Regions from separate parts of the Homo sapiens genome. Here all the other regions are linked to region 6. Evidence: promoter capture Hi-C in 16 types of primary human blood cells and fetal thymus (Javierre and others, 2016). All regions are on one chromosome and are shown on one strand. The core of a region is centred on a gene start or on the middle of the fragment in contact, and the rest is flanking DNA. Distances in the headings are between cores, read along the strand shown. Region 1 has its middle 56 kb from the start of MDGA1. Region 2 overlaps ZFAND3 (zinc finger AN1-type containing 3). Region 3 overlaps ZFAND3 (zinc finger AN1-type containing 3). Region 4 has its middle 42 kb from the start of ZFAND3-DT. Region 5 holds the start of ZFAND3 (zinc finger AN1-type containing 3). Region 6 holds the start of BTBD9-AS1 (BTBD9 antisense RNA 1).

Evidence for each region. The method cuts DNA at HindIII sites, captures the fragments that hold promoters and counts their contacts. A CHiCAGO score of 5 or more calls a contact.
Region 1: a contact is called between a fragment that was not itself captured here and the fragment with the promoter of BTBD9-AS1 in region 6, in 3 of 17 cell types (erythroblasts, fetal thymus and naive CD8 T cells). The highest score is 6.8, in erythroblasts.
Region 2: a contact is called between a fragment that was not itself captured here and the fragment with the promoter of BTBD9-AS1 in region 6, in 1 of 17 cell types (M1 macrophages). The highest score is 6.5, in M1 macrophages.
Region 3: a fragment that was not itself captured here is called in contact with the fragment with the promoter of BTBD9-AS1 in region 6 in 1 of 17 cell types (M2 macrophages); the score reaches 6.6 in M2 macrophages.
Region 4: a contact is called between a fragment that was not itself captured here and the fragment with the promoter of BTBD9-AS1 in region 6, in 5 of 17 cell types (total CD4 T cells, endothelial precursors, fetal thymus and 2 more). The highest score is 7.6, in total CD4 T cells.
Region 5: a contact is called between the fragment with the promoter of ZFAND3 here and the fragment with the promoter of BTBD9-AS1 in region 6, in 1 of 17 cell types (M1 macrophages). The highest score is 6.2, in M1 macrophages.

What each region holds. Positions count from the first base shown.
Region 1 is chr6:37,751,840-37,756,327 of GRCh38, reverse strand. No RefSeq gene overlaps it. Among named protein-coding and RNA genes, the nearest start is that of MDGA1, 56 kb to the right of the region's middle. The HindIII fragment of the contact is 2,829 bases long and covers 1,167-3,995 here.
Region 2 is chr6:37,881,411-37,886,070 of GRCh38, reverse strand. All of the region lies in intron 1 of ZFAND3 (zinc finger AN1-type containing 3), which reads right to left. Among named protein-coding and RNA genes, the nearest start is that of ZFAND3, 64 kb to the right of the region's middle. RefSeq lists an enhancer at 4,257-4,660. The HindIII fragment of the contact is 9,022 bases long and covers 1-4,660 here.
Region 3 is chr6:37,858,904-37,863,366 of GRCh38, reverse strand. The region is part of intron 1 of ZFAND3 (zinc finger AN1-type containing 3); the gene reads right to left. Among named protein-coding and RNA genes, the nearest start is that of ZFAND3, 41 kb to the right of the region's middle. The HindIII fragment of the contact is 970 bases long and covers 1,501-2,470 here.
Region 4 is chr6:37,775,184-37,779,786 of GRCh38, reverse strand. No RefSeq gene overlaps it. Among named protein-coding and RNA genes, the nearest start is that of ZFAND3-DT, 42 kb to the left of the region's middle. RefSeq lists enhancers at 2,123-2,192, 1,787-2,718, 2,786-3,336. The HindIII fragment of the contact is 7,839 bases long and covers 1-4,603 here.
Region 5 is chr6:37,817,991-37,822,554 of GRCh38, reverse strand. It overlaps ZFAND3 (zinc finger AN1-type containing 3), which reads right to left and starts at 2,828. Exons shown (of 6, transcript NM_021943.3): 1 at 2,539-2,828. The coding sequence starts at 2,609. It overlaps ZFAND3-DT (ZFAND3 divergent transcript), which reads left to right and starts at 3,168. Exons shown (of 2, transcript XR_007059569.1): 1 at 3,168-3,977; 2 at 4,065-4,564. RefSeq lists silencers at 2,202-2,371, 2,532-2,761, 2,802-3,181 and enhancers at 2,460-3,262, 3,232-3,621. The HindIII fragment of the contact is 21,540 bases long and covers 1,658-4,564 here.
Region 6 is chr6:38,478,976-38,483,591 of GRCh38, reverse strand. It overlaps BTBD9-AS1 (BTBD9 antisense RNA 1), which reads right to left and starts at 1,996. Exons shown (of 2, transcript NR_144472.1): 1 at 1,806-1,996; 2 at 1,065-1,525. The region is part of intron 6 of BTBD9 (BTB domain containing 9); the gene reads left to right. The HindIII fragment of the contact is 1,570 bases long and covers 1,799-3,368 here.

The sequences.
Region 1 (4,488 bases), core at 1,332-3,831, 730 kb after region 6:
GGTTATTTATCACATTTGTCCCTCTCGAGAGGCAGGGCCATCGCTTACACTGTCCAGAACAGGGAATGCAATAAAGCCAGTTCTACGGAAGGCTCTGAGCCCTGCCCCCTTCACTGAGGGTGGGGAGGAGCAGAGGGGTCTTCCTGATGGGGGTGAGGGAAGGTCCCAGCAGCAATGCCAGCCCGAGTCCAACTACTCAGGAGGTCTCTAGCAGCATTGCCACCACTGCAGTGATGGACATCACTCTCCCCTCCAAGCTAACCTGGCCCTAGCAGGATCACTAACAGCATCCCAGCACCCACTCATGCTATTACCCCCACACCACCCTGGGCACTGCCACCATCAATAAGACCAATGGTGTCGCTGCTGACATCACCGTCATCCTGCTGCAGTCAGCATCACCACTACCACCATTATCACGCACAGGAAGGTAATCGCCAGCTTGGCTTCATTATCCACTTTAGCTTGGCTCAGAGAAACAAACAAATCAGAATTTTCACAGCTGTTTCTGCCTCTACTCCCAACTTCTGCACCATGAGGGACCTCCGCAGAAGGGTCCTGAAGGCAGTGTCCTCCTTGTCCGGCGTCCCTGGTTCTGTGGAGGCGGACTAGGGTCGTGAGAAGAGCTGGACTCTAGACAACCTGACCTTGGACTCCTCTGTGCCGCCAACTGGATGAGAAGCCCGGAGCCAGTGCCTCAGTGGTCTTATCTGTAAGATGGCGATAGTGAGAGTCACCTCACTAGGTTACCGTAGGGATACATGTTAAGTATATGGTACATAGTGGGTGTTTAATAAGTGGCACATACAATGATGATCATAGTTATCATTATTCCAGGGCAAAACTTCTCTCCTAGACACTCAGTTCCCCAAATGGCGGCCTCCTTGCCTCTGCCCAGAGACTCTCCTGAGCCTCCCGCTGTCCCGGTCATCTAGCTCAGCACAGTGACTTCTCTCCCCATCTCCTGCTGCCTGACCCAGTTTCTGTGAAAACCCATGTTTCTCACGGAGCAGAGATGGCAGAGTCACATCTACAGGTCTCATCATCCTATTAGGACAACATCAGGGTAAACATTAGTTATTCACAAACCCAATTACATTTTGATTACTCTGACCCAAGTGAGATTGGGGTTACTCTCACTCCACATTTATTTTTTGGTACAAGCTTCTTAAGTTGCCAGGAGAGGAAAACAACCCCACTGCCTTCCACTCTACCCAGGCAGGAATCTTCTGGGTTCCTTATTTTCTTCTCCTTCCCTGTTCCTAAATGCAGCTGTATCTGGGCACTTGGCCATTCAATGGGGAGCAGAAGGGGCTGGTCCAAGGAGAGAGGGAATTTCAGTTAGAGTGGAGGGAGAACTTCCAACAGGGAAGGGGGCAGGAGAGGATGGGAGGAGAAGTCAGAGTGTCTTTGCCCAGCTGGGGAGACTTGGGAGCTGCGTGCATTCGGGGCCAGGTAGTGGGCTGACCTCCCAACGCCTGGGATGCACCGCCACATTCTCCGCTGTGCCTCTGGTTGACATGTTCGGACTTGAACTCTGGATCTTCTGTGAAAACTGCCTCTCCCATAGTCTTCCCCATCTCAGTAAAGCCTTCCAGTGGCTCAGGCCAAAACCCTTGGTTGTCATCCACAGCTCCTTTCTTTTTTGCTTTTTCTTTTTATTTATTTATTTTTTTGAGATAAGAGTCTCGCTCTGTCACTCAGGCTGGAGTGCAGTGGTGTCATCTCAGCTCATTGCAACCTCCGCCTCCTAGGTTCAAGCGATTCTCCTGCCTCAGCCTCCCTAGTAGCTGGGATTACAGGCACGTGCTACCACACCCGGCTTATTTTTGTATTTTTAGTAGAGATGGGGTTTCGCCATGTTGGCCAGGTTGGTCTCGAACTCCTGACCTCAGGTGATCTGCACATCTCAGTCTCCCAAAGTGCTGAGATTACAGGCGTGAGTCACTGCTCTGGGGCCACAGCTCCTTTCTTTCACTCTAATGCACTAGCGAATCCTTTGGTTCCACCTCAACCTATGTATCTCACCAGCTCCACGACTCCCACCCGCTGGTCTAATCCACTGCCAGATGACTGCAGTTCCCAGATGTCTCTCCCATGACAGTCCGTTTTCAACAGAGCCACCAGAGTGACCCTTTTCAGTGTGTGTTGACCAAGTCACTTTGCCATTTGAAATGCCACAAGGGGTTTCTTTCTCTCAGAGGAAAGCCTGGGTCCTTGCAATGCCTCCCAGGCCACCCCCCGCTCCCTGGCCAGGCCCCCCCACACGCCCCTGCCTGCTCTCTGGCCAGGCCCCCGTGCCCCCCTGCCCGCTCTCTGGCCAGGCCCGCGTGCCCCCCTGCCCGCTCCCTGGCCAGGCCCGCGTGCCCCCCTGCCCGCTCCCTGGCCAGGCCCCCCACGTGCCTCTGCCCGCTCCTTGGCCAGGCCCCCCACGCGCCCCTGCCCGCTCCCTGGCCAGGCCCCCCACGCGCCCCTGCCCGCTCCTTGGCCAGGCCCCCCACACGCCCCTGCCCGCTCCCTGGCCAGGCCCCCCACGCGCCCCTGCCCGCTCCTTGGCCAGGCCCCCCACGCGCCCCTGCCCGCTCCCTGGCCAGGCCCCCCACGCGCCCCTGCCTGGTCTCTGGCCAGGCCCCCCACGTGCCCCTGCCTGCTCGCTGGCTTTGCCTCCATGGCTCTTCCCTCACGCTGTGCTCCAGCCACAAAGATGCCAAGCACAGTCTGGCCTCTGGCTTTGGCACTTGCTGTTCCTGTGGTTGGGACGCTTTCCTCACAGATAGCCACGTGTTTGTGCCTCCCCTTCTTCAGACCTCTGCTCCAGAGTCACCTCACCAAGGAAGCCATCTCTATCTGCCAGGTCACAGCAGAAAGCAGGCCACATAGATTCAGATCCTGTGAGGAGAGTCTACACAGGTGTGGGCAGGGGGTTTGGAACCCACAGGGATAGTGCAGGACCCCCAGGCAATTGACTGGGGAGGGGGTTCAAGAAGGGTGGGTGCAGCTGTTGCAAGGCCAGACAGGATGGGGAGGTTGTGGGAGGCAGCTATTAGAGAATCCCAAAATAAAAAGGGCTGCCTGGAAAGGGTGACCTGATAGAGGCTGAGATCCTTGGTCAAGGGAAGCATCCACCCTCTGCTTCCGGGCTTCTCGGGGACTCCCCACTGGCTGAATTCCATGGAAGCCAGAGGGCAGGGAGCTGGGTGATGCCGTCCATGCAGGCCAGCCTCCCAGGGCACAGACCTGGGTGAAGAAGAGTAGAGAGTGGGTCTGGAGGGGGCAAAGGAAGGATGTCCAGGTCATCACCTGAATAGTGACCACATTATTTAAACCCCCAGTACTCCATCCCTCTTCCTTATTTCTCTCTTTTTTTGAGATGGGATCTTGCTATGTTGCCCAGGCTGGTCTCTAATTCTTGGGCTCAAGCGATCCTCCCACCTCAGCCTCCGGAGTAGCTGGGATTACAGGCATGAGCCAACATGCCCAGCTCCTGCTTGTTTTTCTGTATACCACTTAACATCTTCTTAAAATATCCATAATTTTTTTCCTTACTCACTGGATTGTAAGCTCCACAAAGCTGGGGATTTTGTCTGTTTTGTTTATGAATGCATCCCCAGTGCCTAGAACAATGACTGGTATATCATAAATGCTCAATAAATGTGTGCTCGAGGAGTGAATGAGTGACCAAAAGAGGGAGGCAGTAGTGGGGAGGGGCCAGGTGAGAGCTAATATGGCCTGAGGTCTCTTCCTACAGCCCAAGGTCTCTGGGTTTCACTCCGAAAACTGCCATTGGTAATAGAGAAAGAATGCATTTGTTGTTCAGGTAATTGGTAGTAACTGACAGTAATTTCAAGTAATTAAACACTAATTAATTCAATGAGTCAGTAATGTATTTATTTATGGTATCTGTGTTTGTTCCCTTATAAATATTGGCATTACTTTTGTCAGGTAATTAAAATCCACTGGGAAAGTCACTGAGGTCCCAGGAGATTGCGGAAGCTTGGCTTGGCCTTGGCCAAGAATGAGCACTGGAACGGAGGCTGGACGAAGGCCCCGGGTTGGAGCTCATATAGGACGGGCTTAGATACTGGTGAGGGGTTGTGCAAGTGTTTAGCTGATGTTAGTTTGGGACTGGGGAATGAGACAATCAATCACAAAATCCTTTCCAAGTTATCGACTTCCTCTTTTATTCCCCTCCCCAATTCAAAAGTATTCTTTTAGGCTGTAATACGTGAGGTTCATTGGGGACACTGGCTGTAGACAGTCCTCTCCTCCCCGACTTCTTTTCCAAGGAAACAGCAGTGTCCCAAGCCCCTGGACCTCTGCCCTGGGGTCTGATCTCTTGGCACTAGACCACCCAATTATGGGCTGGATAGAAGATGGAGAAGGAGAGGAAAGGAGATGTGGAAGGACCCAGAGCAGGACCTGAAGGGGGTGGGGAGAGCAGAGGAGATCCTGATCTCAGAAGAGGCAAGCCCGAGGCTTTGGGGGTCT
Region 2 (4,660 bases), core at 115-2,614, 600 kb after region 6:
AGATGGGGTTTCACCATTTTGGCCAGGCTGGTCTCGAACTCCTGACCTCAAGTGATCCACCCACCTCAGCTTCCCAAAGTGCTGGGATTACTGGCATAAGCCACCGCACCTGGCCTGTTCGAACTTAAAATAGTTGTTCAGTTGCTTCCGCTCAGAAGTATACTGACTTCTGGCTGGGCTCACACGTGTAATCCCAGCACTTTGGGAGGCTGAGGCAGGAGGATCACTTGAGCCTAGGAGTTGGCAAAGTATACTGACTTTTTCTGCCCCTCTCCCCAAGCAAACAAATTCTATGCCCAATTAAGTGCTGTCTTTTAAAGGAGTAATCTCAAGGAAATAATTTTGGACATCAACACCATTACTCAAATAAGGTTGAAATTCTTCAGAACTGTCTTCAGCTCTACATCTATTTTTATTTATTTATTTTGAGACAGAGTCTTGCTCTGTCAGCCAGGCTAGAGTGCAGTGGCACGATCTCAGCTCACTGCAACCTCCGCCTCCCAGGCTCAAGCAATTCTCCTGCCTCAGTCTCTCAAGTAGCTGGGATTACAGGCGTATGCCACCACACCTGGCTAATTTTTGTATTTTTAGAAGAAACGGGGTTTCACCATGTTGGCCAGGCTGGTCTCTAACTCCTGACCTCAGTTAATCTGCCCTCCACAGCCCCCCAGAGTGCTGGGATTACAGACGTGAGCCACCGCGTCTAGCCCAGATCTTCATTTATAAACCATATAAATGTATTCCTAGGGATGAGGAAACCAAGGTCACACAAGTCTTGTGACTCCAAATCTCTGGAAATATTCTTTTCATTGCTCTTTATAGTCACCTCAATAGAGACCTTTAGTATCCTTCAACTTGACAATTACCCACCCCTTTTTTCCCAATCTTGTCTCTAAAAAACATGTTAATCATTTCTCCCACCCAAAGACAAATACAAGCTCCAAAAGATGATTGGCCACCAGAGATGCTCTTCAGTACCTGAGTACAGATTCAAGAGGCCCCCAAGACATTCTGAGCAATGATGGTACTGTTGGAAGAAAGAGGCTCGAAAACTAGATTTCTGAAAACAATCATGTGGATGTCTGTTACAAGAGCCTTGTTAGATTTACTCATCTCATTTCCATCAGAAATGGAATTTGAAGGTGGAGGGAAAATATAGATGAATTCAAAATTCCAACCCAAAATTCACATGTGGATTTGGAAACTAGTCCTATCTGGCAAGGGCTAGAGTGACTGAAGTATGATAAATGTTCTCTATGCAACAGCAACTTGAGGAATCCACTGATAATTTTTCTTCTTCATTCACATCTCTCAGAAAAGCGTTCTGAGTGACATCACTGCATACCTGGAATGACCCTACAATCTAATGTACTTGTTGGTAATCTTGCCCTGCCACTTGATATTTAGAGTAGCAGATAAATGACAAATGATTTTCATTTGGCCTTTTGGTCTAGAGTATTTCATTGGTATTTTGGTCTGGAGCTTGAAGCCACACTGGAATTACAGCCTAACAATCTCTCAAAAGACATGCAAACTTACCTGATGTAATTCTTTTTTTTTTTTTTTTTTTTTTTTTGAGCTAGAGTTTCGCTCTTTTTGCCCAGGCTGGAGTGCAATGGCGCGATCTTGGCTCACCGCAATCTCCGCCTCCCAGGTTCAAGTGGTTCTCCTGCCTCAGCCTCCCAAGTAGCTGGGATTACAGGCATGCGCCACCACGCCTGGCTAATTTTGTATTTTTTAGTAAAGATAAGGTTTCTCTGTGTTGGCCAGGCTGGTCTCAAACTCTCGACCTCAGGTGATCCACCCACCTCAGCCGCCCAAAGTGCTGGGATTACAGGCGTGAGCCACCGCATCCAGCCACCTGACGTAATTCTCAATTCTCACTTTCCTGAATCAAGGTATATTTCATTTTCAATCACTTGTAAAGCCCTGATTAGACTCAAACAATATCAAAACCATTCTAATCTCCCACTTCCATGTGATCAAGTTAAAAATCAATCTCTATTATAAGAGCTACACATACATCAGAACTCTAGACATCTTTCCCTACCCAGGAGCTCTAGGGCCCTTGTAAAGCTCTTGGTCATCCAAGTTTTCTCCACCAAGGATGACTATAACCTTCAGAAACTCTGGCTAAAGGTTCCCAGGCCTGGCGAATCTCCTGAACATACATTATGAACTAGTTAGGTGGACGGGAGAAAGGGAAATAGATAATGAAAAGGTATCCATCAAGCCGGGCACGGCGGCTCACGCCTGTAATCCCAGCACTTTGGGAGGCCGAGACAGGTGGATCATGAGGTCAGGAGTTCAAGACCAGCCTGACCAAGATGGTGAAACCTTGTCTCTACTAAAAATACAAAAATTAGCCAGGCATGGTGGCGGGCACCTGTAATCCCAGCTACTCAGGAGGCTGAGGCAGAGAATTGCTTGAACCCAGGAGGCAGAGGTTGCAGTGAGCCAAGATTGTGCCGCTGCACTCCAGCCTGGGCAACAGAGCGAGACTCCGTCTCAAAAAAAAAAAAGAAAGAAAGAAAAGAAAAGGTATACATCATTTAAATATGGGGTAGATTTCTACAGTCTTCATTATTTAAAATATCTGCAAACAAAACTCATTTGTAGTCTGGGTACTTTCTATACGTTCAACAGCGAAGGGTAGGGGGTGGGGGCCATCCAATGTTAATTCTCTTTACTGTGACAATATTGCTGGTACAGTAAGATAAAACTATCTTAGGATGCTAAACTTACTCTCTGGATGTGCTTTGTACACTGCTTGTACTATGTGTGACTCACTTTATTGACTTTATTAACTAGGACTGTAAGATGCTTTAGTTTTGTTTGTGTTTTTGTACAAAAAGAGTCTCATTCTGTCACCCAGGCTGTAGAGCAGTGGCGTGATCATAGTTCACTGCAACCTCAAACTCCTGGGCTCAAGGGATCTTCCCAATGTAGCCTCCCAAGTGGCTAGGACTACAGGTGCACAACTCTATACCGAGCTAATTGTTTTTAAATTTTTTTGTAGAGAAGGGGTCTCACTATGTTGCCCAGGCTGGTCTTGAACTCCTGGCCTCAAATGATTCTTCTGCCTTGGCCTCTCAAAGTGCTAGGATTATAGGCATGAGACAATGCACCCAGGCTACATGTTTTAAATATAGCCATACACTGGATGGTACTAGAGAAACATTAAGCAACCACTGGAATGTCCTGAGCAAGAGAAAATGTTTATGGGATAAACACAAAGAAATTCCAAAGTCCCACAGTGAACAGACATAGAAACAAAGAGGATTTCTGTAAAGAAATGCCAAAAGAAGTGGCCAGCTACTCCCTGTTCATTATCTTTGTATGCAGCCCAGACCAGGTAGTGGGCTAACCTAGTCTGGCCATGGCCCACATCTCTAATATCCAAAAGGGTGGAAGGGTGGGGGGCACAAACACTCCAAACCAAACAAATGGGGGTGGTGGGGATTGGGAGGGGCACAGACCAGTGAGGTTGGCATTTCCCAATTATATGGGAATTACATTCATTTCCTTCTCCAAGGGGGAAGTATAGCAGCAGTGTGTGTAGCAGGGACTAAACCCTAGGACTAATCCAGAAAAACATAGCTTGCCATGCAATCCTTTCAAGCATCAAAGGGACCCTAGGCCTGGGAGCCCTAACCTTAACAAGTATCCTATCCTTGGGCAAAGGGAAGGAGGAAGAGAATTGGGGGGGCGGCTATATCATGCTTCTGATTTGACTACTGCCCCCAAAATAAACAGAATCTGAAGAGCCTACGGGGAGGGGCTTCGTGTGGTCTACCTCATACTGACAAGAAACAAATCATTACTAGTCATTTCTATTTCAGGGGAGGTTGGACTGCCTACATGGCAAACAAACAAAGAGTAATACTTTTGCTAACACAAGGCCTAAAGTTAAATCCCACTCCCCTCCCACTCCAGCAACATGGCCACCCAACTGGACCACTGAAAAGGACCCTAATGTCAGAGCTATCTTTGCACGAGACATACTTTAGAGAACCTGGAAAATTCAACATTGGACACATTTTGCTGCAAAATTAAATTGGCTATTAAGAAGTGAAAAGAACAAAATTGTCATGACACAGACGACATGCTGAGCTCTGCACCACTGACCTATAGTCTTCATGTGATTATACAGGAATGTTTTTGAATTCGTTGTACTTCTTACCATATACTAGCATCCAAAGGAATGTTTTTTTTTTTAACTAAAATTGTTGAAATTCTAAATACAAACAGCATTCAACTCTACTCTTGCCTACCCCTATCCCTGAAGTCCAGCTCTCAACACTGAACTTTTCTTTCAAACCCTAAGGAGCAAGGAACAAAAATCTCTATGAAGGTCCCAAAGACTAAAAATTCGTATTTTTAGTGCTCTATTGTTATGTTCAAAACCCTATATAGCTCGTACTTTTTGGCTAAGGAGATCTGAAAACAGCAAAGCTCCTGCAGCCCAGCTGTTTTCTTTTCTAATTAGTGAAAGAGGAACCTGTGGAGAGATTAAAGATTTAGCCTGCCCCAGAGCTAACAGCTTCCCCTCCAGCAGCAATCCTACCTCCTGCTGGCCTAAGCAGAAAGACAGAACAGACCATCAAATCCAGATCTCTGGCATTAATAATGACTGACAGTCTTGCCAGCCACCCAACTA
Region 3 (4,463 bases), core at 736-3,235, 620 kb after region 6:
ATTACAGAAGTTTCTTTCCACCTAATGAGACAGTCTGGCAATTTACTAGTTTTGTATCTGATTCAATAGAAATATTTCAAAGTGGTATGTGACCACTTGATGTGGAATGTGGGTTTCCTTCTAATAAATCCCTTTGCCAAATGCAGGGAGTTGCAGACTTGCCTCTGGCAAGAGTAAATAAAGCAAATAGGTGAATAAACTTATCCTGATGTGGGAGCATTCTCCTATTGGAGTTCAGTCTTGATCAAAGTGTCAGCGCAGGAATCAGACTCCTAGGAAGGTTACAGTATCTCCTGACAAGACCTGCCAACCACAGCAATAGTGTTGCCATTACTCGATGCCTGCCTTCTGATGGATTTGGGTGAGTAGCTGAGCAAGCCAAGGGGAGGCTGGGTGATTAAATAAGAAATAGGGGATTTTTAGTTAGACAAGGCTTCATCTGAGAAAAAAAAAAACGTTAACAAATAATCAGTTGGAAGTTGGCCCAAATATTTTCCCTGGAAAATACCCATTTTTTTTTCCCAGCAAAATTTTGTTAGGGGTTATGTTATTGAGGAATGAACTGACATGAATACGTGGAGATGTTCTGTAATACCATACTATGCTAGACATCTGAAGGCCCAGGGCACTTTGTTTTTTTTTTGTTTTGTTTTGTTTTTTTTAGAGACAGGATCTCGCTCTGTCACCCAGGCTGGAGTGTTGTGGCACGATCACAGCTCATTGCAGCCTTGACCTCCCCAGCTCAAGCCTCCTGAGTGAGCTCAAGTGAGCCCGCCCACCTCAACCTCCTGAGTAGCTGAGCCTATAGGCAAGCACCACCATGCCTGCTTTTTCTTTTTTTTTTTTTTGGAAAGATAGGGTCTCACTATGTCACCCAGGTCTCAACTCCTGGGCTCAAGCAATCCTCCAGCCTCAGCCTCCCAAGGTGCTGGGATTATAGCCATGAGCCACTGTGCTCAGCCCCTGCAGCAGATTTAAATTCCAACTCGTTATAACTTCTTAAAAGACTATGAAAATATCAAAATGTACATGAATCAAGTTTTAAGATACTGTATGATGGGTGAATGAGGCCGTCTACTGTACCATTTCTTTCTTTGAATTCTTAGGCATGGTTTGGCAGTGCAAGAACTTTGCAATATTAATAAATTCAATAAAAAGTAAACATATGGTTAAAAAACAACAAAAATCAAAATATAACTTAAAAATTAAATTTTTTAACATTAAAAAATTCAATAAAAAGTAAACATATAAAAAAGTAAACAGAAATCAAAACATAACTTAAAAAATAAAATTTTCTTAGGCTATTTCCTCTTTGAGCACATTTTTAAAAAATAATTCTGAAGTCATAGCCCAACTTAATAAGAAAGAATGTTATGAATCAATTATTCCATTTGCATCAGTGACAACACTGGGAAAGATTATAAGAAAATGCTTATGATGCAGAGCAGCAAAACACATACAACATATTTTCTATTTCTACTTGAAATAGTTCAATAAGCTTACAAGGCTCTAAAAACAGTGAAATATTAGAATAAAGCTCCAGTTATCCATATGTAATGCTTAAAAAGAAGTATTTCTAAGTAAATTTTGGAGTGTGAAAACCACACATCATAATACATAAGGCTCTGTGGTACTAACCAACTCTCTCTGAAGTTATTGCTAGAGGAGCACAGACTTATTTGCAGCCAGATATATGGAGGATGAAAACCTAGAAGTTTCATAATTCTTTCATAATATTTCATAATAGTTTTAACCCCTGTAAGTCTTACTTTCTTCACCTGTGAAATGTAGACACTCATACCACACCAGAAGATTAATGCTGGGATCAAATCAAGTAAGTACGTAAAGCCCCTGAAACAGTTCTTTTTTCACTGTACCCTTAATAAATTACACTAATTTCCTACTCGTCTTTTTTATCATGTTGTCCCCTCAGCCTGGAATGCCTGTCCTTTTCCTCCCCGCTCCTGTCTACCTAGACCACATCATTTCTTCAGTGTCCTTTTCTAGTCACTCTTGATACCCACTTTATCTACAACACTATGATAGCCTTTCTCATCTTTGAAATCAAACTGTTTACTTTCATCATGCTATTTTTTTATTTTTATTTTTTGAGACACAGCCTAGCTCTGTCGCCCAGGCAGGAGTGCAGTGGCACGATCTTGGCTCACTGCAACCTCCACCTCCCAGGCTCAAGCAATTCTCATGCCTCAGCCTCCCAAGTAGCTTAGATTATAAGAGTGTGCCACCATGCCTGGCTAATTTTTTTATTTTTAGTAAAAACAGGGTTTCACCATGTTGGCCAGGCTGGTCTTGAACTCCTTGCCAAGTGATTTGCCCGCCTGGGACTCCCAAGTGCTAGGATTACAAGTGTGAGCCACCACGCCCGGCCTTATGCTATTTAACTAGACATTGCTCTCATTTTTATTTAACATTTCACTGGCATATGGTACAGATTTCCAGCAGAGAAGCTTTAAGGCTTCATGGAGTACCATATCTCATCCTTCTACATCCACCTCAACACCTATCAGTGCTTTACAGAAACTAAGCCACATCCCATAAATGAATAAATGATCAAATAAAGGCACAGAAATTACAAGTTGTTCTGTTTGAAAAAAAAAAACTGGGTGAAAAAGGTACCTGATGTGGCCGTCACAAACAGAGAAGAGTAAATATATGGTATATAGTGTTAACTAAAATCTAAACCTACTTAAAAAAAAAAAAAAAAAAAACTAAGTGAATATCCCCTTGGCACTAAACATCACTGCAAACAAGTCCAAATGAGGAAAGACATAATGCAATCAATTTCTTACTCAAAATGATACCCCCTATAACTTTAGCCACTTCTACAGAGAATAAAAAATTTGACAGATATTCTCAGGTCTGAATTAGGATTCTGCTTTTCCTAACTCACTGTCTTCCTAAAAAGTCAGCCAGCAGGGGGAGTGCAAATTCATTAACATCATAGTCACAAAATACTTATGGCTAACAAATTTTTGAAATTCTGGAATTTCTTTTTAAGTCAAACTTCTGAATATAAGCCACAAAAACTACTGGAGGCCATGCATTTTAAAACCATAATATTTTATAATATTATTCCTCTTTACTATGTAAGTACTCCATAAAACTGCCACTTCTTACCTCAGGTCCTTTTGGGTTTACAGGTACATTCCAAAAAAAAAAAAAAAAAACTCTTTTTGGCCTGGCACGGTGGTTCACGCCTGTAATCCCAGCACTTTGGGAGGCCGAGGCGGGTGGATCACCTGAGGTCAGGAGTTCGAGACCTGGTGAAACCCCACGTCTACTAAAAAATACAAAAAAAAAAAAAAAATTAGCTGGGCGTAGTGGCAGGCTCCTGTAATCCCAGCCACTTAGGAGGCTGAGGCAGGAGAATCACTCAAACCCAGGAGGTGGTGGTTGCAGTGAGCCGAGATCACGCCACTGCACTCCAGCCTGGGTGACAAGAGCAAGAGTCTATCTCAAAAAAAGAAAGAAAAAAAAAAAAAACCCACTCCAGCCTGGGCAACAGAGCTAGACTCTATCTCAGGAAAAAAAAAAACCCTTTTTAAAGACAGAAAAATAAATCATTATTCATCAAAATTCAAATGACAATGGAGAAAAGCTACTACATTCTAAAATGTTACACAAACTGATTGAGGTACAAGGCCAGTCCCACAATATTTGCAAGCCATTCATGAATTCAATCCTCACCTATCACTGAAATCAAAGCCTCACCTGAAGGTCTCCAGCCTGCTGCTATCATGCCCCTCCCCAATAAGCAAACATTAATTTTTAGCTCATGACCATAAGATATGAAAATAGACCATAAGATCAGAAAATTGGTAGGTAGAAATTATGTATTTTGTAACATACAATATACTATTTAAAGAGCAACAAAGTCTCTGGTGACAACTACAGACAATCATAGCTACAGATGGTATGGAAGAGCGATGAAGAGAAGAAAGGGTTCAGCAACAGAAGATATTACAGGCCAAGTCCAAATTGCCAAACACAGAACACTGAAATAAAATTTAAGCAAAAGTGTGCCAGGATCATCTGTCTTTAATAGAAAGAATCAATGAGATGGATAGAATCTAAACATAAATTTTCTCTGTTCAGCTAAAAAGTACTAGTATATACATTAACATACTTGATCCTTTCAACAATCCTGTAAAGCAGGTAATGGAATTGAAATAAAGAGAGGTTGTCTTATTCAAGGCAACAAAGCTAACAAGTGGTGGAGCCAAAATGCTAACTTGGGCTTTCTGGCTCCAAAATCAAAGTTCTTTACATCACAACATGCTGCTCCTTGTTGAAGCCAGGGCTAAAACATACGTGTATCAGAAATGTAGCTGACCTGCTCCCACAGACACAGGATTTTTTAAAATAATAATACATGCATGAAAGTACGACATGCACAATGCTGGCCCTGGCAGCAAATCTTCTAGCTCTTCTAGTATAAAGAA
Region 4 (4,603 bases), core at 532-3,031, 700 kb after region 6:
GCAGGGGGAGGGGCCTGTAGGGAGTGATTGCAGAGAGACCCCCAGGAGAATGTAAAGTAAATGCAAAATATGCAAACCATTAGTGATTAGTTGTGGGTCAATTACTCAGGTCCTCTGAGTCATAAGTTGGCAGCTGTGCACTCCAAGCCTCTGATTGGGCCCAGGGGAGGGCCAGCTGGCATGACCTTGGGGGGCCTGGCCCAGGACCTCCAGCCCCTCAGGTCACCAGCCCTTCTGGGCAGCCTCCCAGGCCACCACCCCTGGGCAATAAGGGATCCAGGCAGCTGGAGGATCAGAGAAACCTCTGTTCATGCTACAAACCGCCCCACCTGCTCCAGAGCACAGGCAGCCCTCAGCCTCAAGGCGGCCATGCCAAGCTCACCCACTGAGGGTACTGGGGCCAAGTCTCTTCTCTCCCCTCCCCTTTCATGGTGTGCAAATTTCCCTTCTTCCCTCCCCCTCCACCCTACCCTTTTCCCTCTGGCCTCTCAGCCTCTGTCTGAATAGCCCCACTTCCTCCCTCTCTCCACCTGTTAATGATTCCCAGTGACCTTGCCTCAGTACCTCGGATGGGAAATACCAACTTCAATGCCTTTGTGCCTCAGTCACTTAATTTGCACCTGGTTCTCATTTGACACATTTAGAGGGCCCAGCCAGCCCTGGGGCAGGGAGGGAGAAGGGAGACCTCCTCTATCACCTCACTTCATTGAGAACACCGGCAGCTGCTGATGGGAGCTGCCAGTCATGCCTGCCTCTGAGGGCAGCTTGTCCATCTTGCTGCCTCCCACCAGGCCATGCTGGGCACATAAGGAGGGCTTTCCATGCTGGCAGGACCCAGGGAGATCCCATCACCTTCTGAATATCTGAGCCTGCCCCCAAGACCACTTGAGGGGGCAAATTCTTCCTGGGGTCTCTGCCACGGCAGGGAGAGAGAAGTAAATTAATCAATACTGTATTTGCCAAGTCCCTGCCATGTGGCTGGCAGTGCTCTGGGTACAGTGCTATAAAATGAAGTGAAGGAGTGGGCACAATGTATTCAGAGAAACCACCTTTTCTGAAACCCCCTTCCTCAATGTGCCCTGCCAGCAAGATGAGGTCTGTAGGCCTGTGGGCCTGAGTGGGGAACTCCATCTCTGGGGCATTCTCTGGGAAAGTGAGGGGCCCCTGAAGCAGGTGGTGAGGGAGACCCAGAGGGTAGAAGGAGGAGGCATCTGGCCCAACCTTTGCCCCAGGGGATGGGGTGACAGGAGCCTTAACCAGTGACACTGGACCCCACAGTCTGGCCCTCAGTAGTGGTGGATGTGGGTAGCAAGGGGGCACCAGGCAGTTCTGAGCAGTTATGGATGGAGGACAGTAGGGGAGGAGCCCCTAAAATCCTCATGCCAGTTCCGTGGAGTGCTGACTCCAGGAGGATGTGTTGAGCTTGGCATTTTCCTGCACAGTAACTCCTGGAGTCAGACACTTTGTTGTTAGGGGTGGCAATGGTGGTGGTGTTTGTCTCTTATCTGGCCCAGGGACCCTCACCTCTTCCCCAGTTTTCTCCATCACACTCCCTTTCCTTCTAGGAAGAGAAGCCAGGAGGCAAAGAGGAGGAGCTGGGAGATGTGGGGGCTCTCTGAGCCATGATGAAAGTGGGAAGTCACTGCATGGAGCCTCCTCATCTGTAAAATGGGGGTGCTCCTGCCTGCCTCCTGGGGTTGTGGGAATCAGATGAGAATGTTGAGGTGCTCTGGGGACTTGAAAGTTTTATGTAAGGGTAGGGTCTCAAGTGCATGGCCTCCCCATGAGGGTGGCTTTGCAGGCTCATGGAGAGGTGTAAGTTACGGCGGCATGCTGGTTCTACTTGCCCTTCTCCTTCTACCACCCCCTCCCCACCTTCCTGAGAACTCAGGTACGCACTGTCTCCATTGCAGAATGTTTGGTAGCCACTCCCCTTCCCCCACAGCCTCAGGAAGACCCACTCCTCTCCCAGTTTTCCTCTCCCCTCCCAGTCTTCCCCCGTCCCCCCACAACACAGCAGTCTCCTTTGTGACATTGCTAGGATGGCTGGGAATCACGCCCTCTACCTCCCAGGGGCCTCTCCAGTGTGAGAGCCACATCAGCTTTCCAGTATCCCCCACTGTGGTGGCCCAGACACCCGCTGGCTGCCCATGACCTTCAAGCAGTGCTAGGATCCTCTTTCAACTCTCCTCCCCGCTCCTCCAGCTTCAGGCCCCGCTGCTTGTGGCCAGCCTTAAGGCTGCTGTCTCTGCAGCCACGAGGGGAGGATCAGGTGTCTAGTGACTGGGGCCTGACTCCTCCCTGGGGCCCAGGAGAAATCGAACATTTTCTCTTCCCATCTTTGACTCGGCAGCCTGAGAGCCTGAGCCCCCACTTCTGAAACCGGAGCAGAGAAATGCATGCGGTTGGGAAACCACCTGCAGAACTTGGCTGGATCCTGGGCAGCCTGAGGTGCAAGATGCTTGGCTGGGCTGGGCTTGAGGATGGAAGGGGTGGGCCAAGAAAGAAAGATAGACAGGGCCTGGATGAGGGTGCCTCACTCACCTCAGGCATCAAATTTTAGGGGTGCCAAAAAACTCAGCAATTAAGAGACTTAATACTTGAATGAGCTAGTTTTAAAAATCAAAATTAATGCAAAACAAGATCTGTGATTGTGGCGGGCAGAATGATGCCCCCCTCCTGAAGAGGTCTACGTGCTCTAAAATTCGTGAATATGCTAAATTATATGGCAAAGGGGAGATCGGGTGCAGGCGGAAGAAAGGTTGCTAATCAGCAGACCTTGAGGTAGGGGGAGGAGCCTGAGTTGTCCAGGTGGAGCCAATGTAATCATAAGGGTCCTTAAAAGCAGAAGAGGGCGGCAGAAGAGTTGGAATCGGGGAAAGAAATGTCATGGCGGAAGTAGAGTCAGAGAAGTATGGTGTGAGAAAGACTCGCCTGGCTTTGAAGACGTTTGGAGGCCACTGCCAAGGACTGCAAGCAACCTCTGGAAACTAGAAAAGGCGAGAAAGCAGATGTTCCCCCAGAGCCTCCAGAAGGAAATGAAGTCCTGCTGACACCTTGTTTTTAGCTCAGTGAGACCGGTGTCAGACTGTGACTTACAGAACTGGGAACTAATAAACTTGTGTTGTTTTAAGGCACTAGGTTTGTGGTAATTTACGACAGCAGCAATAAGAAACTAATACAATGAAGAACCGAATACCAGCCTTTTACATAAAGACAGGCTCAGGAGATGATAGGCCCCCGGCCTGCGGACAACAGCCTTCGTGCTCATGCCCACTCAGTTCAGCCCTTGAACTGCGGGTGAGATCAAGGGGGCGGGGACGACAAGCCAGAGGTAAGAGGGGAGTTGGGGGCACTATGGCAGCTCCCGAGATTCACTGACTGGCAGGAGCATGGTGTCAGGGTGTGGTGGGAGTGGGGAGATAGGAGGGAGTGAAGAGAGGAAAGAAGAGGTGGGAAGAGGATAGAGGAACAAAGAGCATTGAGGCACAGCTAGAATCAGGCACAGAAGACTCAGAGGACCGGGTGCGGTGGCTCATGCCTGTAATCCCAGCACTTTGGGAGGCTAAGGTGAGCAGATCAGTTGAGGTCAGGAGTTCAAGACCAGCCTGGCCAACTTGGTGAAACCCCATCTCTACAAAAAATACAAAAATTAGCCAGGCACAGTGGCACACGCCTGTAATCCCAGCTACTCGGGAGGCTGAGGCAGGAGAATCGCTTGAACCCGGGAGGCAGAGGTTGCAGTGAGCTGAAACTGTGCCACTGCACTCCAGCCTGGGCAACAGAGCCAGACTCTGTCTCAAAAAAAGACTCAGAGAATTAGAGCTGGAGGTAGAAGTAAAAATTAGCGATCTCACTAATTTCTGTTTGGCTGGCATGTTAGTATTATATTAATATTCACTGATGTTTATAAATTACAATTATACATAGACATTGTTAAAAAGTCAAATACTTAAAGGCTTATAATGAAACAGCCATTTCCACACTGGCCTTCTGCACCCTGCAGTCCTGCTCCTGAGAGGCAGCCATTTTTAAGTGTTAACTGTTTTGGTTTTTTCCTAGTATTTTCAGATTTCTATGCAAAAAAATACTTATTTTCCTATTGATGTTTTAGTTTTAAGTATAAACTATTGCCTTTATAGTATGGAAGATGAAAACGTTAAGTTTGCTAAACCCAACCCTCCACTTTTTCTCCACCAATGTAGTTTTATCATTTTATTCCATCTTTTAAATTAATTTAATAGAGACAAGGTCTTGTTACGTTTCCAGGTTGGCCTCTAACTCCTGGACTGAAGCGATCTTTCCACCCCAGCCAGAGTAGCTGAGACTACAGGCATGCGCCATCATACCTGGCTCCACTTTTTTTCACATTTTAATACATCAATATTCAATGTTTATTTTATTATGATTTTGCAAATATTATTCATGGTTGAGCCAAAAAGTAGACTCTGATTACATTTTGAAAATTGTATTACCCTGCTTCCTGTGGAGTTAATTACTGGCTCTGTTAAAAAAAAAAAAAAAAAATCTTAGGCCAGGTGTGGTGGCTCACGCCTGTAATCCCAGCACTTTGGGAGGTCGAGGTGAGCAGATCATGAGGTCA
Region 5 (4,564 bases), core at 1,579-4,078, 660 kb after region 6:
TATCACAGGCATTCAAATATCTGTTAAATATATTCTAAGTTTACTCAGTGAACAAAATATGAATGTGGCCCATACAGTAAGGGAAACATGTCCAAAGTCAGTTGTGATACGATGGAAACAAGGCGGCAATGTTGCTATGCTTTGGTATAAAATACAAACTACACAATTGTCTACAAACGTCCTTAGGAAAGGTTAAAACATTGCACCAAAAAGAACACTTTTCACGATAAAAATACTAGTTTTGTGGTCACTACTCCTGCTAGGTAAACTGAAGTTCATAAAAAGTATCAGACTGAAAATATCTAAAAAGAAGCCCTGGTTGCTTATAGGTCAAGTACAACATTAGTGTAACTTTTCCTGTCTGCTGCCACCAAACTCTATTGGCATTATCAGAACCCTACCGGCTAAAGGTAAAAGGCTGGCCGGGCGCGGTGGCTCATGCCTGTAATCCCAGCACTTTGGGAGTCCAAGGCAGGCAGATCACCTGAGGTCAGAAGTTTGAGACCACCTTAGCCAACATGGCAAAATCCCGTCTCTCCTAAAAAACACAAAAATTAGCCGGACATAGTGGTGTGCACCTGCAGTCTCAGCTACTTGGGAGGTTGAGGCAGGAGAACTGCTTGAACCCGGGAGGTGCAGGCTGCAGTAAGTCGAGATCACGCCACTGCACTCCAGCCTGGGCAACAGAGCAGGGCTCCGACTCAAAAATAAATAAATAAATAAAGGTAAAAGGCTATTCCATTTCCTTAGTTTCTAAGCCTTGATATAAGTCTTTCGATAAAGATTCCATTCATGGTAACAGTCCGAAGGACATAAACGTGTTGCCAGGAAAGAGACCTGATACATCCTGAGCATTAGCTGCCACTGGCAGCGACTTTCTTTAGGACATATGTCTTACAATGAGTTACAATCTGAGGCTTGTGACACAAGATTTTTCCAGGGCAGCAGACTGATACCATAAACATGATGGTACTACGCACTCTAAAGAGCTCACCAGCTCCACCCTACACTCCCTGTGTGAAGCGGCAAATTATCCACCCAAAGCCTCAGTTTCCCCAGCTAATAATGAGATAATGGTTCCTACCTCGCAAGATTCTTGTGGGAATTAGACAGTCCATGAAAGCACTTCACAGGCAAACCAATTATTTTCAAATCAAAATGAAGGGAAGACTAGAAATATTTTCACATTTTTAGGACTTTTTATATGCCACAACTTATTTTTGACTAATGTCCTTCCACAGGGAAATTTTTGAGAAAGGCAGAAAAATGAGAAAATGAAAATCCACTTCTTTGTCATAACCTTGAGATACGACAACTTCCACAGAAGTCTACATTAAGATCCACTTTCTAATCTTTCTCTGCACTCCCAAAATTACTCTTAATTTCTGTTAACCATTCCTACAATATGGGAGATAGCAAAGGGAAAACTACTTCCATACTTCTTCCCAAGATGTCCTCACCAGAAACAATCTTCCTTCCTGCCTCTATGTCTCCAAATATACGGAATCTCTCAAAAAATAAAACTAAAACAAAACGATAAAAGAGAAAAGGGACTCAAATCACAAAAGCCAGCCTTCAAAGTCTCCAGCTTTCTTACTGCAGAACTACAGTCATGTGGTATGATGGAGGCACCTGTTAGGTGGCAATCCATGAAGCTTAAAGTGTTACCAGGAGAATTTAAACAGTAATGGGGGGAGGAAGAGGAGCTGATTTCCCACCTCACATTTTTTTCGCCTTAACACATGATGGCCAAACAATATATGCTACCCACTGTCAACATTTTTATCATTTTTACTTAAATTGAGAAAGAGGAGAATTTGAGAGCCAACTGAGGAAACTGGATCTCATATTCCCCAATCCAGGCTGACTTCAGGTTTTGTGTGGTTTTTTTCTTCCTTTTTGACAAGGAAATTTTACATATCTCCTGAAACGTGTTTTACATGAAGGTGAGACCTCAACAATCTTATAACTTTACCCCAGCCTGGTTCTGGACTCGGTTTTTACAAACGGGTGACGTGTGAATAGCTTCCTAAAAGCAAATGGGGCACTGGGATATAATCTAGGAAGTGATGATGCAAGTCTCCGGAGGACGGGGAGGAGGGGAGGTGAAGAAGTCAGAGGAAATACCCTCCTAGTGCCTGGGCACCAACTCACGCCCCGGGAGGGAGGAAGGGCTGGCTTCCACATGCCCACGGAAGGGGCACCCCTGCTCCTCCCGGAGCGGTCAACGCCGCCCCCTCATCCCTCCCCGCCGCCCTGCCCCCCTCACCCGTGGCCCAGGAGGCCCCCGTGGGCCCGAGCTTCAGGCCGGCGAGTCCCAAAGGGTAGCAACGCACCCCCGGCAGGGCCTTCTCTGCCCACCCCCAGCTCCCCACCCGGCACCCCTCCCCGGAACGCGACCCCCACCCCCTCCCCGTAGGCCCGGGCTGGGCCCAGCCTCCAAGGTTCCGGCCTCCCGGGCCCCGAGGCCTGCCCAGGCTGCCCTGGCGTCTGCGCCCCCGGCCCCCGCCCCCCGCCCCCACCCGGCCGGGCACTTACCCCCAGAAGCCGCAGGGACAGCGAGGCGGCAGGCTGGGCGCTTTGCTGCGCTCGCTCCCAGCGTCTCCCATGGTGCTCGGCGGCGGCGGAGCTCGGCGGCGGCAGCGGTGGCGGCGGCTGGGCCCGGGCCCCGCTCTGAGGAGGCGGTGGCGGCGGCGTCGGGGGGCTCGGGGCGGGGGGAGGGGGAAGGAGCGGGCGCGCGGGCGGGCGCGAGTCCGGGGCTCGGAGCCGGGATTCCAGGCCGGTCAGCTGGAGGCGGGCCGCACCACTCGGCCTGCGGAGACGGGGAGGGGGCGGAGAGGCGCGGAGAGAAGAAGGAGGGAGCCGAGGAGGAGGGGCGTGCGGACGCACCGAGGACCGCGGGGGAGGAGGGACACAGACGCCCTCGGCGGGTCTCACCGCCGCTCCCCAGCCAGAGAGATGTCCTGTGCGGTGGCGCAGGGAAGGACCGGAGCCCCCCGCCGGCTCCGGAGTCGCAGCGGCCGCTCTGAAGCCCCGGGCCCTGCTGTCTCCGTAACACCGTCCCCTCCCCCGGAGGCTGCGCTGACCGGACAATGGCCGCTCCGCCCCCTCCCCGGCGTGCGCCCCTCCCGAGGAGTCACAATGGTCTCGCCCGGGGGAGCCAACGCCAAAGCCCAGCCGCTGATCAGCTGGGATCCGGGCGTGCCACTTCGTTCCGCGCCTCAAAGGCGGAGTGCGGGGCTGTGGGAGAAAACGAGAGCCTCGGGCTGTCGCCCGGCGACGGGCGGCTGAGGCCTTCGTATTCTTAGAACTTTTAGAATCTGAAGCAAACTTATCTTCCCCCTGTCTGAAGAAGGGGAGCAGGTTTCTGAGTACTCCGGGGCGCGGTGCCTCCCCCTAAACGCGAATGGTGCGCTCCAAGCGGGAGGGGGAGGAGCAGATTAGTTGTGTAGGGTAAATTGGGCCAGTCCCAGAGTGGCGGCGCATGCGCCCGTAGAACCCGTAACCGAGTGCGAGGAGGGGCCTGGGGGAGCAATGCCAAACGCGGAAGTGGAGCTCTGGCTTCCCGGGGGCGTCGGAGTCAAGGTCCCTGGAGCTGCCGCTCTGGCTCCTGGGCGATTCCGGGGAGCCATTCTCCCCAATTTGCCAACTCCCTGGGCATCTCTCTCTCTCTTCCTGGTCCCGCCACACCCAAACAACTCTTATAGTTCCACCCGGTATACTGGTCTCTTGACAGGAACTTTTGGGAAATGCCCCTCCCCCAGCCCCTTGTCTGGGGCAACTTCCTTGTCTCTTCTCCCCCACCGGTGTTGGGGAGTTCCTTGTCTCCACTCCCAACCACAGAGCCACAAGTACATTATCTATGCCCAGGCGAGTCCCTATGCCCAGGCTAGGAGAGCCGCACTTCTTCCTACAGCTGACACGTTTGGTTTTTGGAGGGGAAAGGGGAGCTGTAGCTGAATCAGTAATGGAAATTGGTAAGTGACCAAAGAAGTTTGAGACACTAAAAAAATGAGTCCTTTAACGATCCTAGTCCTTGATCCTGAGCTCATTCTGATCTCCAGTTAGTCATGAACAGAGAAATCGATTATTGATGACTAATTCAACACGGAGGCAACATCCTCCAGACCTTTTGGAGACCCATCGCTGAGGAAGACTTCCTGGCTCTTAGGAATAGCTGCCGTATACCCTCCTTGCCTGTCGGGTATATCAGAGCCTCAGAGAGACTATTACCTAGATTAATTTGATTACCAAATGTTGCTATCTTATTTCTTTATATACCAAATCACATTTCTGTTTGTGCATACTGTGTGGGTTTGTTAACATTGATGTTTATTTTGGCCTCTAAAGAGCAAGGATCGCATTTAGCTTAATATGCCACAGATGCTGTTGATGGTGAAGTTAATGATTGCAAAAATCAAGCACTTAAAGCCAAAACACCCTAAAATGTGAGTGCTGATTTATTATGCACAATGTTTAGTTTTAATTTGGTGGATTTTCCAAAGCCTTCAATAAGTATATCTGTAAGAAAGTGCATAGAAAAAGCCGGACGCTGTGGCTCACG
Region 6 (4,616 bases), core at 747-3,246:
CATGTCCTACAGGGACTTGATAGTGTCGAATTCTAAGGATGATGGGAAACCATAGAAGGGTTTAAACCAGGTGATGGTAGTTGAGATTTTTGAAAGATAACTCTAGTGTGATCTAGTGTGAGAATGGACTATAGGGAAGACCAGACAGCAGGTGGGCAAGGAAAAGTGAATACAAGAGACTGGGAAGGAGCTGCCAGTGAGGCAGGAAGAAAACAAGGACAACATTTTCATGGAAGTCTTAAAAAGTCAGTCTTTCGGTATGAGGAGGGGAGATGGGAGAGGGCAGTAGGTAACAGAAAATCGACTCCTGGTTGTAGCAAGATAGAGCTTAGTGGCGTCCTTTAAGAGCCATTTCAGTGGAGTCAAGGGAGAAGGGAATAGAGGCTGAGGGAATAGGGGTAGCAATACATGTAGAAGATAAAGTATCACTGGGAGGGGAAGCAGAGAAATGATGAAGAGGATGGAGGGGGACCTAGGGTCAAGGGAGGATGATGTTAAGGTATGTGTGTGTGTGGACTGGAATGATACCACAGGGAGGGAGGATTTGATAATGCAGGAGAGTGGATCTTTGTAGGGGCCGTGTACCTCATTATGGGAGAGGGGCTGGATCTCTAGCTCAAGGAGAAGATTGACTTTAGGTAGAATTGAGGTTCCTTCTTTTCCTGTAACAGGAGGAAAGGCAGAGTATGTAGAATAGATGTACCCAGATTGAAAGAGGCAAAAATGGAAGCCTTACCTTCATGTTGACAGTGCTTGTGCCTTGGTGGGTCTTTGTGGTATATCATGGCCTCAAGCTCTGTTTTTGCAGGTCCACTGAGTTATTTGTGCTATATATATTCTTTTCCTACCCAGGCCATCTATCTCAGATACAGATCTGTTTACATGTCTGTCTCCCCCACTAAACTGGCATCTCTTCAACAAGAGTAGTTATCTTTGTATCTCCAGACATAGCTCAGTGTTTGGCAAGAACTGAGTTGAAGGAATGACAGCTACATCAGTAGAAAGGACTCATATAACAGCTACACAAACATGCGGTAGAAAGGAAAGTAATTCAAGAGCATGAATAAAATTAAGTGTTTATATCTTAGAATAATTAATATGATTTCTCTCTTTTAAGTGGAATACATTGTTACTGAACACCAGAATTGAGGGGTAGCTAAAAGTAAAAAAAAAAAAAAAAGAAAGAGAAAGGATCACCTCACACCTCACTACCATCTGGAAAGAAGATGAGCTTTTAACAGCCCCTTTCAGTAGGGACGAGTTAGTGCCTGGCATGCTTTGGTGGGAAGCACATTTCTAGGTTCAGGAGAAAGTGAGAATCAAACGTGTCTGGGAAAAGGAGATCCCAGTGTGATCAGCTTGCTTGTGGAAGATTAGCAGGGGTTGGGGGCGTAGAGGGCTTCGGGCAAGAGTAAATGTTAATGAGAGATGGCTTAAGCAGACTTGTGCCCAAACGAGTGAGAACAATTTGACAGGAAGTTCAGTTGAGCATGTGTAGCACTTCTCCAAATGCTTTCTTCTTGGACTGGGAAGAAACACAACAAAACAAAATAGTTACTTTCCCCTTCAACATTATACAGCACATCCTAAATGAAACATGACTTTCTGAGTTACAAGCTGCCCCTGGCAAAAAGGCTGGTTATAATCTCAGTGTGTTCCCTGAAACTAATGTTCCTTGGGCACTCCAGATTTGTGTGACGTACTGTAAGTTATATCCAACTGAACTGTTCTTTTAACTGCCTGCATTAAGCATCATCAAATAAGTTGCGCTGAAAGGAACCACCTGAATAAAGAAGCTTTTATACCTTTGTAAGTCCTCACTGCATGACCCTAGGTCACTGCTGTTGAACTTGGGAGCTTTCTCTCCCACTTTTCACTCTCTTGCCTTTAATGGATGGGGGTCTCCACACCAGGTTTTCTTTCTCTCTCATCTGCCAGGTGCTAGCAAATGGTGCTGCCAGCCTCATTAGGGGAGAGGGGGTAGTGTGGAGGCAGGCACTGGCCCCTCCCTCATGTGCCCCGCTTCCCAGAGGCCTATGGGATACCAACTGAAAAGAGGTCGTGAGCAGAGCTGCTCACCCTGGAATTCATTTTCTCTAGACTCATTAAAATGCTGCCTTCCTATCTCCCTTGGATTTTTACTTTTCAAAACACTTTACGATGTGCGGCCTCATTTTATTTTACATTAAGCTGACAACCTAACATCTCACCAAGTATCAACTGGGAATACAATTTTGCACTCACTGTGCTGTGCCATCTTGCCAAGTTTTGTCTTTGTTACTCAGCTCTCATTCAGAAAGGAATTAATTTGAATTATATGATGCTATGGTTGTCTCCTTGAAGAAGGGCTAGATTCCTGCACACCTTGGGAAAGTATCTATCTGTGAATGTACTTGAATCTTCCAGGTTATATGCCATTCTTCTCTCTTCTTTCCCTTTCACATCATCATGGGCTCCTCTCACGTTAGAATAAACCTTTCTGTTTTGCCTCTCCCTACTCAATGGGATTTCCATTGTTTCTGTCTTCACTTCCTTTTACCTGGGAGAAGCTGATACTGATGGAAAGGCATTTTTGAGTCTAGATATAAAGCTCTTTGTTTAAAGAGCATTTTTAAAAGAAGGGAATTTTTACATTGCCAAAGGTACCCAGGTGTTGCCTTCCTTCCCCATGAGGATTTTGCACAGAGCGCACATTCATACCCACTATCTCTTAGTGTCAGCCTGTGTGATGGCTATATGCTGTCTACCAACACTACAGTCTGTTTGGGAAGCGCCAAATCTTGGGTAGGCACTGGATCTAAAACTGGCACTGGAATCATCCACTCAGAGGAAGAAAGATTGAGGTCAGGTGGGGAATAAGACAGGCAAGTTGTCAGGCTTCTTTTCAGATGGTTCTCAGAGTACACTTCCATTACTTAGAACAGTGGGTTTGGTGGGGGGTTTTGGCGTGTTCTATAGCTGAGCTACAAGCAAAATTAGAGCTTTTTACTTATATACTACTTTGCATGGAGGTAGTCTCAGGGTCCCAGTTACAGCACTGATTTCTTGAAAAGAGTTTGATGTTCTGGCCCATGCTTAATTTAAATGAGAGGCTAAAAGCAGATTGTGTAACCCACCAATGCCCATTTGACAGGACTTGCACCAATCTGACCTACACTTTCATAAGAGCTCCTAAGCAGAGTGCTGTACTGTGGGTCTTCTGCCTTAACTCCAGGAATGGCAGAGATGAGCTACTGTTTATTGAGCACCGACAAAGGAGAGGTACTCTGAGTGTTGAATGCATGCTGTCTCTCAGCCCACAAGAGCCCTGCAAAGGAAGTGCATTGCTCCCCGTATTTATGGATGAGGAAGCTGAGTATCAAGAAGCTTGCTCAGAATCATGCAGCTAGCAAGGAGCAAGGCAGGGTTTCAGAGCTACGTTTATCTGTTTCCAAAGAGTACACTCTCCCCTCAATTCCCAGTAGTACTTCTCCAGTAAATCTTAAGTATTGTATTGCTTTTTTCCCTTCTATTTCTCTTAGCAGTCTATAGAAAAGAGCGTTTATTTAAAGATTTTAGTGCTCATCTGGGCATAGTGACTCATGCCTGTAATCTCCACACCTTGGGAGGCCGAGGCAGGAGGATCGCTTGAGCCCAGGAGTTCCAGACCAGCCTGGGCAACATGACGGAACCCTTTCTCTACCAAAAATACAAAAGTTAGCTGGGCATGGTGGTGCACACCTGTAGTCCCAGCTACTCAGGAGGCTGAGGCAGCGGGATTGCTTGAGCCCGAGAGGTGGAGGTTGCAGTGAGCCGAGATCACGCCACTGCACTCTAGCCTGGGCGACAGAGCCAGATCCTGTCTTTTAAAAATAAAAATAAAAATAAAAAAAGATTTTAGTGCCCCCTATAACTTGAGGCTTGGATTCTGAAGTGAAAGTTGTTGTTCTGAGAGGTGTTGATTGAGCAGTAGTAATACCAACTACATCAGTGGGACTTGGTGGCCCAGTCACACGGATGCAGTCAGAAAGGGAGTGTTACCTCATAAAGCAGTGATTCAAGCCTGGGCTTGGATTTTAAAATGTTGGAAAGTTGTGAAGAAATGGGATTTTTTTTTTCTTCCAAAGATTGTAATAACTTTGCCATTGTACCATTAACATAGTCACCACCTCATGTTTGTCATGTAACCAATTTATGTTTTTACTAACATTGAGGAAATGATTTTTTTTATGCTTCCTCCTTTCTATCTTTCAATTTTTTCCCATCTACACTGTGTGGATTATCAGATAAACAGGAAGGTCAGTGCTCGCTTAACCAGGGTTTGGCCAGTGCTCAGTGGGTGGGAAGCCGTCGGGAGAGGAGCTGGAGGGGTTGTGTGTCTGAACCCCTGTGCTCCACATTGGGCGCCTGTCAGGTTCCACTGACTTTTCATTGTATATTTGGAAACTCTTTCATAGCCAGAGCAAAGCCCAGGGAAATCTCTCCTCCTGTGGTGTTGGTCGCGTTCTTGTAGTTTCCATTTGATAACAGCATAGTTTACAGAGAACTTTTTGAGCTTTTGGAGAACTCCTGAGACTTATTTTGTCTTTGCCTGCAGCCAAAATAATTGAAGCATTGTCAGTCTATTTCAGCAGCAC